Linked DNA regions of Homo sapiens: region 2 is linked to region 1. The links are contacts of gene promoters, found by promoter capture Hi-C in human tissues and cell types (Jung and others, 2019). All regions are on one chromosome and are shown on one strand. The core of a region is centred on a gene start or on the middle of the fragment in contact, and the rest is flanking DNA. Distances in the headings are between cores, read along the strand shown.

The links. Contacts are between HindIII fragments. The study calls those that stand out against the background at their distance.
Region 2: a fragment that was not itself captured here is called in contact with the fragment with the promoter of ZNF383 in region 1 in 2 of the 25 tissues and cell types used here (hippocampus and pancreas).

The regions. Positions count from the first base shown.
Region 1 is chr19:37,213,889-37,219,463 of GRCh38, reverse strand. ZNF383 (zinc finger protein 383) reads right to left here and starts at 1,250. Exons shown (of 6, transcript NM_001387601.1): 1 at 1,190-1,250. RefSeq lists an enhancer at 1,135-1,624. The HindIII fragment of the contact is 10,545 bases long and covers 1-5,575 here.
Region 2 is chr19:36,679,804-36,685,428 of GRCh38, reverse strand. It overlaps a transcript of ZNF567 not described here. Among named protein-coding and RNA genes, the nearest start is that of ZNF567-DT, 4.8 kb to the left of the region's middle. The HindIII fragment of the contact is 6,888 bases long and covers 1-5,625 here.

The sequences.
Region 1 (5,575 bases), core at 1-2,500:
GACCAACACGGAGAAACCCCGTCTCTACTGAAAATACAAAATTAGCAGGGCGTGGTGACACACGCCTGTAATCCCAGCTACTAGGAAGGCTGAGGCAGGAGAATTGCTTGAACCGGGGAGGCGGAGGTTGCGGTGAGCCGAGATTGCGCCATTGCACTCCAGCCTGGGCAACAACAGCGAAACTCCGCCTTAAAACAAAACAAAACAAAAACAGAGAAGTGTAGGCTGTCATGAGCATTCTTGGTATCAGAGGGGTGAGGTCTCTCCTCTCGAGAATCTGTCCTGACCTCACAGGGAGAGCTGGAGTCACAAAGACAGTCACAAGCACCCCCTACCCAATGCTGCAGTCACCCAGCCACCATGGGGACCCACATAGACCTCCACAGGCACGCCTCACCCAAACAATAACACTATATATGGTCACACAATCATTGTCCCACATCTACCTTGAGGATAAGTTACACTAGCATATTTACAGACCCCTCAAACATAGCACCATTCAGAACCAGAGTGCTACAGATAGTCACAATACCACACGCACTACTGAGCCACACAAAGTTACAGTTCCCCCCTCCCCAGGACCCCTATTGAGCACTACACACAATCACACATTCAAAATAACACAATGACCACTAGGACACACATATCACCCCGGCACGATTACACGCACTTTCCAACCGCAGACACAGTGCTACATAAAGTTACATGGTCACACTCTCACATTCTCACGTTACTGGGTTATTTCTGGGTAGTAGATTTACTCAGTAAGGCATCCAGTACACTTAAGTGCTGCTAACAGTCATACAAACACAATTACACACACCCCTCAGACTAACACACAGTCACAGCCTCATCAGATTCTCTCCACACAAACACCCTCCACAAATGTCACGCAAAGTTACACAGCCACACACAATCACAGTCCCAACACGGGACACAGTCATACCTACACATACAGCCTTACATTGTTACAATTACACAACTACAACGAGGATATACAATCACACCCGCGCACACAGAGAGGCACAGTCACATAAGGTCACACTCACACACGGAAGCCCACGCCTCGCGCCCGCCTCCCCACCACCCCCTCTATCAGCCCGACCAACTCATACATGCCCGACACACTCATACATGCCCAACACTCCAGACCAGCCTGGTCAGTCCCTTCAAACTCCCATGCACGTACCTGCGGGCCCCAGCCGAGCCTGCAAGACCCAGGCCGCTCACCGCGCACTTCCCCTACCCTTGAGGCGGAGGGTCCAGCAGGCAAATGAAGGGGCTGCCCTGGACTCGCGGGGGCCTCTGGGAAATACAGTCCGGAGTAGGACCGCGCCGAGAAGATGGCGCCTGTTTTTTCGGGTTCTTGCAGCTGCACAGCTCGGGGACATCCCTGCTCCGCACTCCGAACCGCTACCCCGCGTCTCCGTGATCCAGACACAGGCTCAGAGTGAAACTGCCGTAGGACGCTGGCCCTGCACGCTGAAGACAATCTTCCTCCATGGTACCGGCCAACCCCAGGGAGTTCCCTGAGAAACAGGAAAAGGTCGCCAGCTTCGGGCCAGATGTTGACTAGAGCCGCAAGGATTTTTGGGAACTGTAGTCTAGAGCAGGAAGGGGTGAGGCGCTGGGGCAAGTGGAAGGAGGTCGCTTAAATGACTTCCTGCCCCAAGCCGACTCAGTGCAGAACGCACCCAGGACCCCGGACTGTACTAGGCGTTATAACGCTCTCTGAGAATGCTAGACTGACTAAATCGTCATTTTTGCCTTCATCCGTGGATAAGCCACATACTGTATGACTGCATTTATAGGAAATATTTAAAATAGTCAAATCTACGGAAAAGGAGTAAGTTAGAGTTTTTTAGGACTAGCAGGATTAGGGGGAACTGTGAGTGATTGGTAATAGCTAAAGGGTTCATTTTTGGGGTAATGCAAAGCTTCTTGAATTAGATAATGATGTTTGCACAACTCTGAATACACTAAAAGTGACTGAATGGTACACCATAAACGAGCTAATGTTATAGTTTGTAAATTATATTTGTGTGCATGTTTTTTAAAAATCAACTTTACTGAAGAATAATTTAGATACAATAAAATGCACTCATTTTAAGTGAACTGTTCGGTAAGCTTCAACGCATGTCTAAACCCTTGTCACCACCATCGTAATCAGGATATAGAATATTTTTTAAAATTAAAAAATTTTTAAGCATTTTAGTTAAATTTTTGTGGGTACATAGTAGTTGTATATGGGGTACATGAGATGTTTTGATACAGGCATGCAATGCGTAAGAATCATATCATGTAAAATAGGGTGTCTATCCCCTCAAGCATTTATCCTTAGTGTTACTGGATATAGAATTTTTTTTTTTTTTTTTTTGAGTTGGAGTCTAGCTGTCACCCAGGCTGGACTGCAGTGGCGAGATCTCGGCTCACTGCAAGTTCCGCCTCCCGGGTTCAAGCGATTCTCCTGCCTCAGCCTTCCGAGTAGCTGGTATTACAGGTGCCCGCCACCATGCCTGGCTAATTTTTGTATTTTTAGTAGAGACAGGGTTCGAGCTCACAGGCTGGTCTCGAACTCCCGACCTCGAACTTCTGACTTCGTGATCCGCTCGCCTCGGCCTCCCAAAGTGCTGAGATTACAAGCGTGAGCCACCGCGCCCGGCGGATATAGAATATTTTTATTCACCGCCCTCTGCCCCCCACATTGTTAAGTCAATCCCCACCTCCCAAACCCCACATCAGGCATCTATTGACTATTCTAAGGAATGAGCAGTAGTATCAAATTATGTTTTTAATTTGCATTTCCTGATGTCAATGAACTTAGCATACTTTCATATACTTATTTGCCATTCTTTTATCTTCTTTTGTGACATCTATTGAAAATATTCGGCTGGGCGCAGTGGCTCACGCCTGTAATCCTAGCACTTTGGGAGGCTGAGGCGGGCAGATCACCTGAGGTTGGGAGTTCGAGACCACCCTGACCAACGTGGAGAAACACCGTCTCTACTAAAAATACGAAATTGGCCAGGCGTGGCGGTGCATGCCTGTAATCCCTGCAGGAGAATCACTTGAACCCGGGAGGCAGAGGTTGCTGTGAGCTGAGATCACACTGTTGCACTCCAGCTAGGGCAACAAGAGCAAAACTGCATCTCAAAAAATAATAATAAATAAATAAATAAATAAAATTTTCTTATTTTAAAATTGGTTATTATTGAGTTGTAACAATTCTTTATATGTTTGGGTAAAAGTCCTTTGCCAAATATACATATTGCAAATTGCAAATATTCTCTCCCTGCCTGGGGCTTACCTTCTCAGTTTTTTTTTTTTTTTTTTTTTGAGACAGGGTCTTGCTCTGTTGCCTAGTCTGGAGTGCAGTGGTGTTAACATAGCTCACCACAGCCTTGACCTCCTGGGTTTAGTCGATCCTCCTGAGTAGCTGGGACTGCAGGTGTGCACCACCACCCCCAACTAATTTTCTTGTGTTTTGTGGAGATGGGGTCTCACTGTGTTATTACAGGTGTGAGTCACTGTGCCCAGCCCTCAGTTTCTTCATGATGTCTTTCAAAAAGCAGTTTTTACTTCTGATGAAATCCAATTTCTCATCTTTAAAATGTGCTTCATGCTTTCTGGTCTTTCTAACAATCTTTGACTCCTCTAGTGTTGTGAAGAATTTCTCCTATGTTTTATTCTAAAGGTTGTATAGTTTTAGTTTTTATTTTTGGTCTATCATCCACTTGAAGTTAGTTTTTGTGTATGTGAGGTAATGTTCAAAGTTATTATTTTCCAGATGGAAATTCAGTTGTTCTAACATCACATGTTAACAAAACTATCATTTTCCTCTTGAATGACCTCAACATCTAAAGTAGGCAGGATAATGTTCCCCCCAAAATACCCACATGCTAGTTCCTGGGACTTGTGAATATGCTATGTTACATGGCAAGTGGAATTAAATTAACAGGTAGAATTAAAGTTGCTAATCGGCTGACCTTAACATAGGGGAATTATACTGGATTGTCCAGTTAGACCCAATGTAATCACATGGGGTCTGAAATGAGGAAGAAGGCATAAAGTCAGTGTTGGAATTGTGTGCTGTGAGAAACACACGACCAGCCATTATTGGGTGTAAAGATGAAAGGAGCCCATGAGCTGAGGAATGCAGGCAGCTTCTCCAACTTGGAAAATGAAAAAAAACAAATTCTCCAGAGCCTCCAGAAAGGAATGCAGCTTGCAAACTTTTGATTTTAGAGCAGAAAAAACTCATTTCTTTTTTTTAATTTTTAATTTATTTTTTTAATTTTTATTTATTTATTTTGAGATGGGGTCTCCCTCTGTTGCCCAAGCTGGAGTGCAGTGGTGGGATCTCGGCTCACTGCAACGTCTGCCTCCTGGGTTCAAGTGATTCTCCTGCCTCAGCCTCCCTAGTAGCTGAGATTACAGGCACCCACCACCATGCCCGGCTAATTTTTCTTTCCTTTTTTTTTTTTTTTTTTTTTTTTTTTTTAAGTAGAGACAGGGTTTCATCATGTTGGCTAGGCTGGTCTTGAACTCCTGACCTCAAGTGATCTGCCTGCCTTGGCCTCCCGAAGTACTGGGATTACAGGTGTGAGCCACTGCACCCAGCATTTTTTTTTTTTTTTTTTTTTTTTAGAGACAAGGTCTTGCTCTGTCTCCCAGGCTGGAATGCAGAGGTATGATCACAGCTCACTGCAGCCTCATACTCCTGGACTTAAGCATCCTTCCGCCTAGGCCTTCTGAGTAGCTGGGACTATTGGTGTACACCACCACACCTGGCTAATTGAAAAAAAAATTTATAGAGAGAGGGTTTAGTTATGTTGCCCAGTCTAGTTTCAAACTCCGGGCCTCAAGTAATCCTCCCACCGAGGCCTCCCAAAGTGCTGGGATTACAGGCATGAGCCACCACAACAGCTGTGTCATCCCAACCCCTCTCTGGGCTTGATCACATAAAGAAGGCTTGCATTCCTCAGATAAAAGCCATTTATTTTCTTTTTCAACACTATGCGGAGTGAGATAAGCCAGACCAAAAGGACAAATATTGTATGAATCCACTTATATGAGGTGCCTAGAATAGGTGTATTCATAGAGACAGAAAGTAGAATTGAAGTTACATGAAGTTATATGAGGTACATGATAAAGCCTCTATACTTAAAACAGTGTGCTATTTGTGTGTGGTTAGAGAGACAGACAAAGGGAGGAGGATGGGAAATGGAGAAATAAACATCCATGGCCGGGCGCGGTGGCTCACGCCCAGCCCTTTGGGTGGCCGAGGTGGGTGGATCACCTGAGGTCAGGAGTTCGAGACCAGCCTGGCCAACATGATGAAACCCCATCTCTACTAAAAATACAAAAAATAAGCTGGGCATGGTGGCATGCGCCTGTCATCCCAGCTACTCAGGAGGCTGAGGCAGGAGAATTGCTTGAACCTGGGAGGCGGAGGTTGCAGTGAGCCGAGATTAAGCCACTGCACTCCAGCCTGGGCAACAGGAGCAAAACTCCGTCTCAAAAAAAGAAAGAAAGAAAGAAATTAACATCCCGGCCAGGCACGGTGGCTCACACC
Region 2 (5,625 bases), core at 1,045-3,544, 540 kb after region 1:
CAGGAATGTGGCATTGACTTCTGGGTGGAGTACAGATGACTGACACCCCCACCCCGATTCGGAGGAATTATTCAGGGGTGTGATATAACACCTACATACATTTATTTAACTAGCCAATTTGGTCTCCCCTTTTTTTGTTTTGAGACCGAGTCTTGCTCTGTCGCCCAGGCTGGAGTGCAGTGGCGTGATCTCGACTTACTGCAACCTCCGCCTCCCAGGTTCAAGGGATTCTCCTGCCTCAGCCTTCCGAGTAGCTGAGACTACAGGTGCCCACCACCATGTCCGGATAATTTTTGTATTTTTAGTAGACATGGGGTTTCGCCAAGTTGGCCAGGCTGGTCTCAAACTCCTGACCTCACGTGATCTGCCTGCCTCAGTCTCCCAAAGTGTTGGGATTACAGGCATGAGCCACCTCGGCCAGCCGGGTCTCCCTTTTTACATCTGTTTTCCCCTTTCCAGTTCAAATTCTGTATTCTGGGAACATCTTACTTTCTTCACCCTGATTGATTAGGGAAACTTCAGGGTTCTTAGGTAACTTTCTGAAGGACTGGTTTAAGATTCCTAGAGTTGGAAATGGGCGTCTCTCCTGTGTTATTTCTAAAGTGTTATCATCCTAATCCTTCAGAATACTTTCTTGACTTCTTTCTGCTTGATGATTAAGGAATGGTCTCAATTCTCCATAGCCACATCAGACCAAAATTCCATTTCTTTGCCTATGTGAAGGGTTTATTATTAATTACCCTATTAATTTATGTCCAAACCAGATGTGATTTCCTTCTTGGAGCAATAGTTCGTGAAGAGGTTGGTTAACAGCAGTTCTGTGCCCAGGTAAATGAGAGGCAACTGATAAGAGGAACTCGTTGTGTATAAAATCTTAGGATTCTAGATTTAGGACCTTTAAGGCAGTATTTGAATTAGTGCTCTGGAATGTCTATGAAGAAAGTTTGGGTCTCTTCAGCCAGAATTCAGACCATTTCAACATTGCATTCCATGTATCATACACATATCTCCTTTTATTATTATTTTTTCTGCTCTCAAAGCAGATTTCTCTCATTGTAAAATTAGTAGATTCTTAATTCAGAAGATTGGAGAATATTAAAAAAAGCTTAAAGTAAAGCACTTTGAACACTTTATTCCAAATCACTTCACCTCATTTGTGAATAAGTGCATGGATATAGGCTTATAGGACTTTTTCATTCAAAACAGGGTTATATAACAATTGTTTTGAAATCTACTTGTTTCTTCTAACAAAATATAGTGAACAAATTTTCATGTCACTAAATTATGAACTGTGTCATAATCTTTTAATGGCTGCACTGTTCTGTTTGTATATGTAAGTTCTTTCCAGCTTTTTCCCATTATATGCAATGTTTTACTGCATATGCCTTTTCTGTGCACATGTGAATTGTATATTTTGGATAGTCTTAGATATTTTGCTGAGAATGAGGTTTTCATAGTTAAAACCTGTTTACACATCTATATCAATTGCCCTGATTAAGTTTGCACCAATATTCAACATACTATGAGAATGTCTATTCGCTACTATATGGTATCATTAGTCTTTTATTATTATTTTATTTTATTATTATTATTATTTGAGACAGAGTCTCACTCTTGTTGCCAGGCTAGAGTGCAGTGGCATGATCTCGGCTTACTGCAACCCCCGCCTCCAAGGTTCCAGCAATTCCCCCACCTCAGCCTCCCAAGTAGCTGGGACTACAAGGCGCATGTCACCACGCATGGCTAATTTTTGGTTTTTAGTAGAGACGGGGTTTCACCATGTTGGCCAGGATGGTCTCCATCTCCTGACCTTGTGATCCGTCTGCCTTGGCCTCCCAAAGTGCTGGGATTACAGGCGTGAGCCATTGCACCTGGCCATCATTAGTCTTTTAAATCCACCAATCCAGTAGAAATTATATTTATTTAAATGAATTACCCATGCACAGGTTTCATTCAGTGTAATAAAATATGGGCTTCAGAAACAAAAACCAGAACTGAAAGAAAATTGGTTTTGTAGGTAGAAAAATGTGATTTAAAAATGCAGATATGCCATTTATTTTGAGGGTGTATAGCTCACCCCTGTAATCCCAGCACTTTCGGAGGCTGAGACGGGTGGAACACTTGAGCCCAGGAGTTTGAGACCAGCCTGGGCAATATGGTGAAACCCCGTATCTACTAAAAATACAAAAAATTAGCTGGGTGTGGTGGTGCACCTGTAGTCCTAGCTACTTGGGAGGCTGAGATGGGAGGATCACCTGAGCCCAAGGATATTGAGGCTGTAGTGAGCCGTGATTGTGCCAATGCACTCCAACCTGAGCGTTGGAGTGAGACCATGCCTCAAAAAAACAAAAACAAAAAACTCTTAAAATCGAGGGAAAGACCCAAAAACCCGATAGAAAAAGTGAGTAAAAGAAATGAACACATGAAATCACACACACACAGACACACACACACACAAAGAGAGAGAGAGGAAGCACAAATTTTAAAATTATAGCGTGCTGGCTTTTTAAAAAAATAAACCCAGCTGGGTGTGGTGGCTCACGCCTGTAATCCCAGCACTTTGGGAGGCTGACATGGGCGGATCACGAGGTCAGGAGATTGAGACCATCCTGGCTAACATGGTGAAACCCTGTCTCTACTAAAAATACAAAAAATTAGCTGGGCGTGGTGGAGGGCACCTGTAGTCCCAGCTACTCGGGAGGCTGAGGGAGGAGAATGGCGTGAACCTGGGAGGTGGAGCTTGCAGTGAGCCAAGATGGTGCCGCTGCTCCCCAGCTTGGGCGGCAGAGTGAGACTCCGTCTCAAAAAAAAAAAATAATAATAATAATAATAATAAAATAATAAAAAAAAAACCCATGCAACCGCCATTACAGACATAGAAACTTTCCAACATCCCAGAAGGCTCCCTCATATCTCTTCCCAATCATTATACCTCAAAGTTAACCATTAGTTTGACCTCTATAATAGAATAGTTTGGTTTGGTTTTGAACTTCATATAGGTGGAATCATATAGTATGTACTCTTGTGTCTGACCTCCTTTGCTCAACATTATTTCTAAGTATATAGATACATATAGATAACATTATATCCATGTTGCTGTACATAGTAGTAGCTTGTAATTTAACCTTTTTTTTTTTTTTTTTTTGAGACAGGGTCTCATTCTGTACTCCAGGCTAGAGTGACAGTGACACTATCATAGCTCACTGCCACCTCAAACTCCTAGACTCAAACAATCCTCCCACCTCAGCCTCAGCTCCCCAAGTAGCTAGGACTACAGGTGCATACCACCACCACACCCAGACAATTTAAAAAATTTATAGAGATGGGGTCTCACTATGTTCCCCGGGCTGATCTTGAATTCCTGGCCTCAAGTGATCCCCCTGTCTCTCAGCCTCTGAAAGTGCTGGGATGACAAGTGTGAGCCATAGCACCCACCCTTTATCATGTAATTATTTTGTTACTTCCCTCTTGTTCACTCTCTCTACATATATCTGGTTGTATGTCTTAAGTCTTATACTACTAGAAATTAGGAGTTAGGTTGATCAGTATATACAAAGTTTCAGTTATATGAGAGGAATAAGTTTTGGTGTTCTGTTGTGTAACATGATGACTATAGTTAATAATATTAAACATATGAACTGGGGGGGAACAAATCAGTCTATAACAATTCCCAATTAAAAAAAAAAAAAAGAAAACTTGGCCAGGTGCAGTGGCTCACACCTTGTAATCTCAGCACTTTGGGAGGACAAGGTGGGCCAATCGCTTGAGCCCAGGAGTTCAAGACCAGGCTGGGCAACATGGTGAAACTCCATTTCTACAAAAAAATACAAAAAATTAGCTGGGTGTGGTTGTGTGCCTGTAGTCCCAGATACTTGGGAGGCTGAGGTGGGAGAATCACTTGAGCCCTGGAAGTCAAGGCTGTAGTGAGCCGTGATTGCACCACTGCACTCCAGCCTGGGCATCAGCGTGAGACCTTGTCTCAAAGAAACAAAACTCCTCTTAATGTCAAGGGAAAGACCCAAAAACCTGACAGAAAAGATGGGTAAGAGAAATTAACAATTCACAAAAAATATGTAAAAGGGACCCTTAAATGTGTAAAAAGAGAAATACAAATTAAAATAATATGGAGACAGGCCAGGTGAGGTGGCTTACACCTGTAATCCCAGTGCTTTGGGAGCCTGAGGTGGAAGGATTGCTTGAGGCCAGGAGGTTGAGATTACAGTGAGCTATGATTGCACCACTGCACTCTAGCCTGGACAACAAGCAAGACCCTGTCTCTTGGCAGGGGGAGAGGGGGAATACTGAGACCATTTTTAACCTATCAAGATGACAAAAATTAAAAAATATAACAATGTATTCTGTTGGTGAGACAGGATATAGTCGGCTGACTGATGACCCTGCAAAAAGATATGTCCATGTCCTAATCTCTGGAAACTGTGAATGTTACTTAATTTGGAAAGAGGGTCTTTGCAGATGAAATTAAATTAAGAAGTTTGAGATGAGTAGTTCATCCTGGATTGTCTGGGTGGGTTGGGTCCTAAATCCAGTGACAAGCAACCTTAAAAGAGACACAAGGAGACTGGCAGACAGAGGAAGAAGAGGCAGCAATGTGACCCCGGAGGTGGAAATCTCAGTGATGGGGCCAGGAATGTCAAGGAATGGTCAAGGAATGGCTACAGCCACCAGAAAAAGAGGCAAAGTGAGGCTTCTCCCCTAGAATCTCTAGGAGCGCTCCAGCCCTGCTGATGTCTAGATTTTTGGAGTTCTGGCCTCCAGAATGTGAGAGAGTAAACTATTGTTTAAAGCTACCAAGTTTGTGGTAACTTGTTAGAGCAGCCACAGGAATGAATGTACAGGGAATCAGGCAGTCTCATACACTGATGGTGGGAAAACAAACCGGCACAACCCTTATGGTGGGAAATTTGACAACATGTACAAAAACTACCTACACATTTCCCTTGTGACCCAGCCATTCCACTGTTAGGAATCTGCCCTGAAGATACAACTCCACCTATTAAAAAATACAGCCATTAGAATGGATGATGTTTACCGCTACTTGCTGACAAAGAAAAATGTTCACTTGTGTTAAATGAGAAAGACAGGTCTCAGAACAGCAACAATGTTCTAGACGATTCTGTTTTTTAATACTCAGTATATGTAGAGGAGATTAAAGGGATTTATCGTGAGATGCTCATAGGGGGCAACTGTTATTTCAGATTTCTTTTTTAAAATTTTTAATTGACAAGTAATAATTGTATATATTTGTACAACAATTGTATGTATTGTATGTACAATTGTATATTGATGTATATATTTGTACAATAATTGTATAATTTATATGGTACAATGTGATATTTGTATGCATCAATACATGATGGAATGATCAAATCAGGCTGGTTAGCATATCCGTTACCTCAAATATTTACCATTTCTTTGTGGTAAGAACATATAAAATCCTATCTTTTAGCTATTTTGAAATATACAATACAGTAACTATAGTCACTGTGTTGGACAAAAGAACAGCAGAATGTATTCTTCCTATCTAAACAAAACTTTGTACCTGTTAACCAGCATTTCCCCTTTCCCCATCCACCACATCCCCACCCCCCAACCTTTGGTAACCAC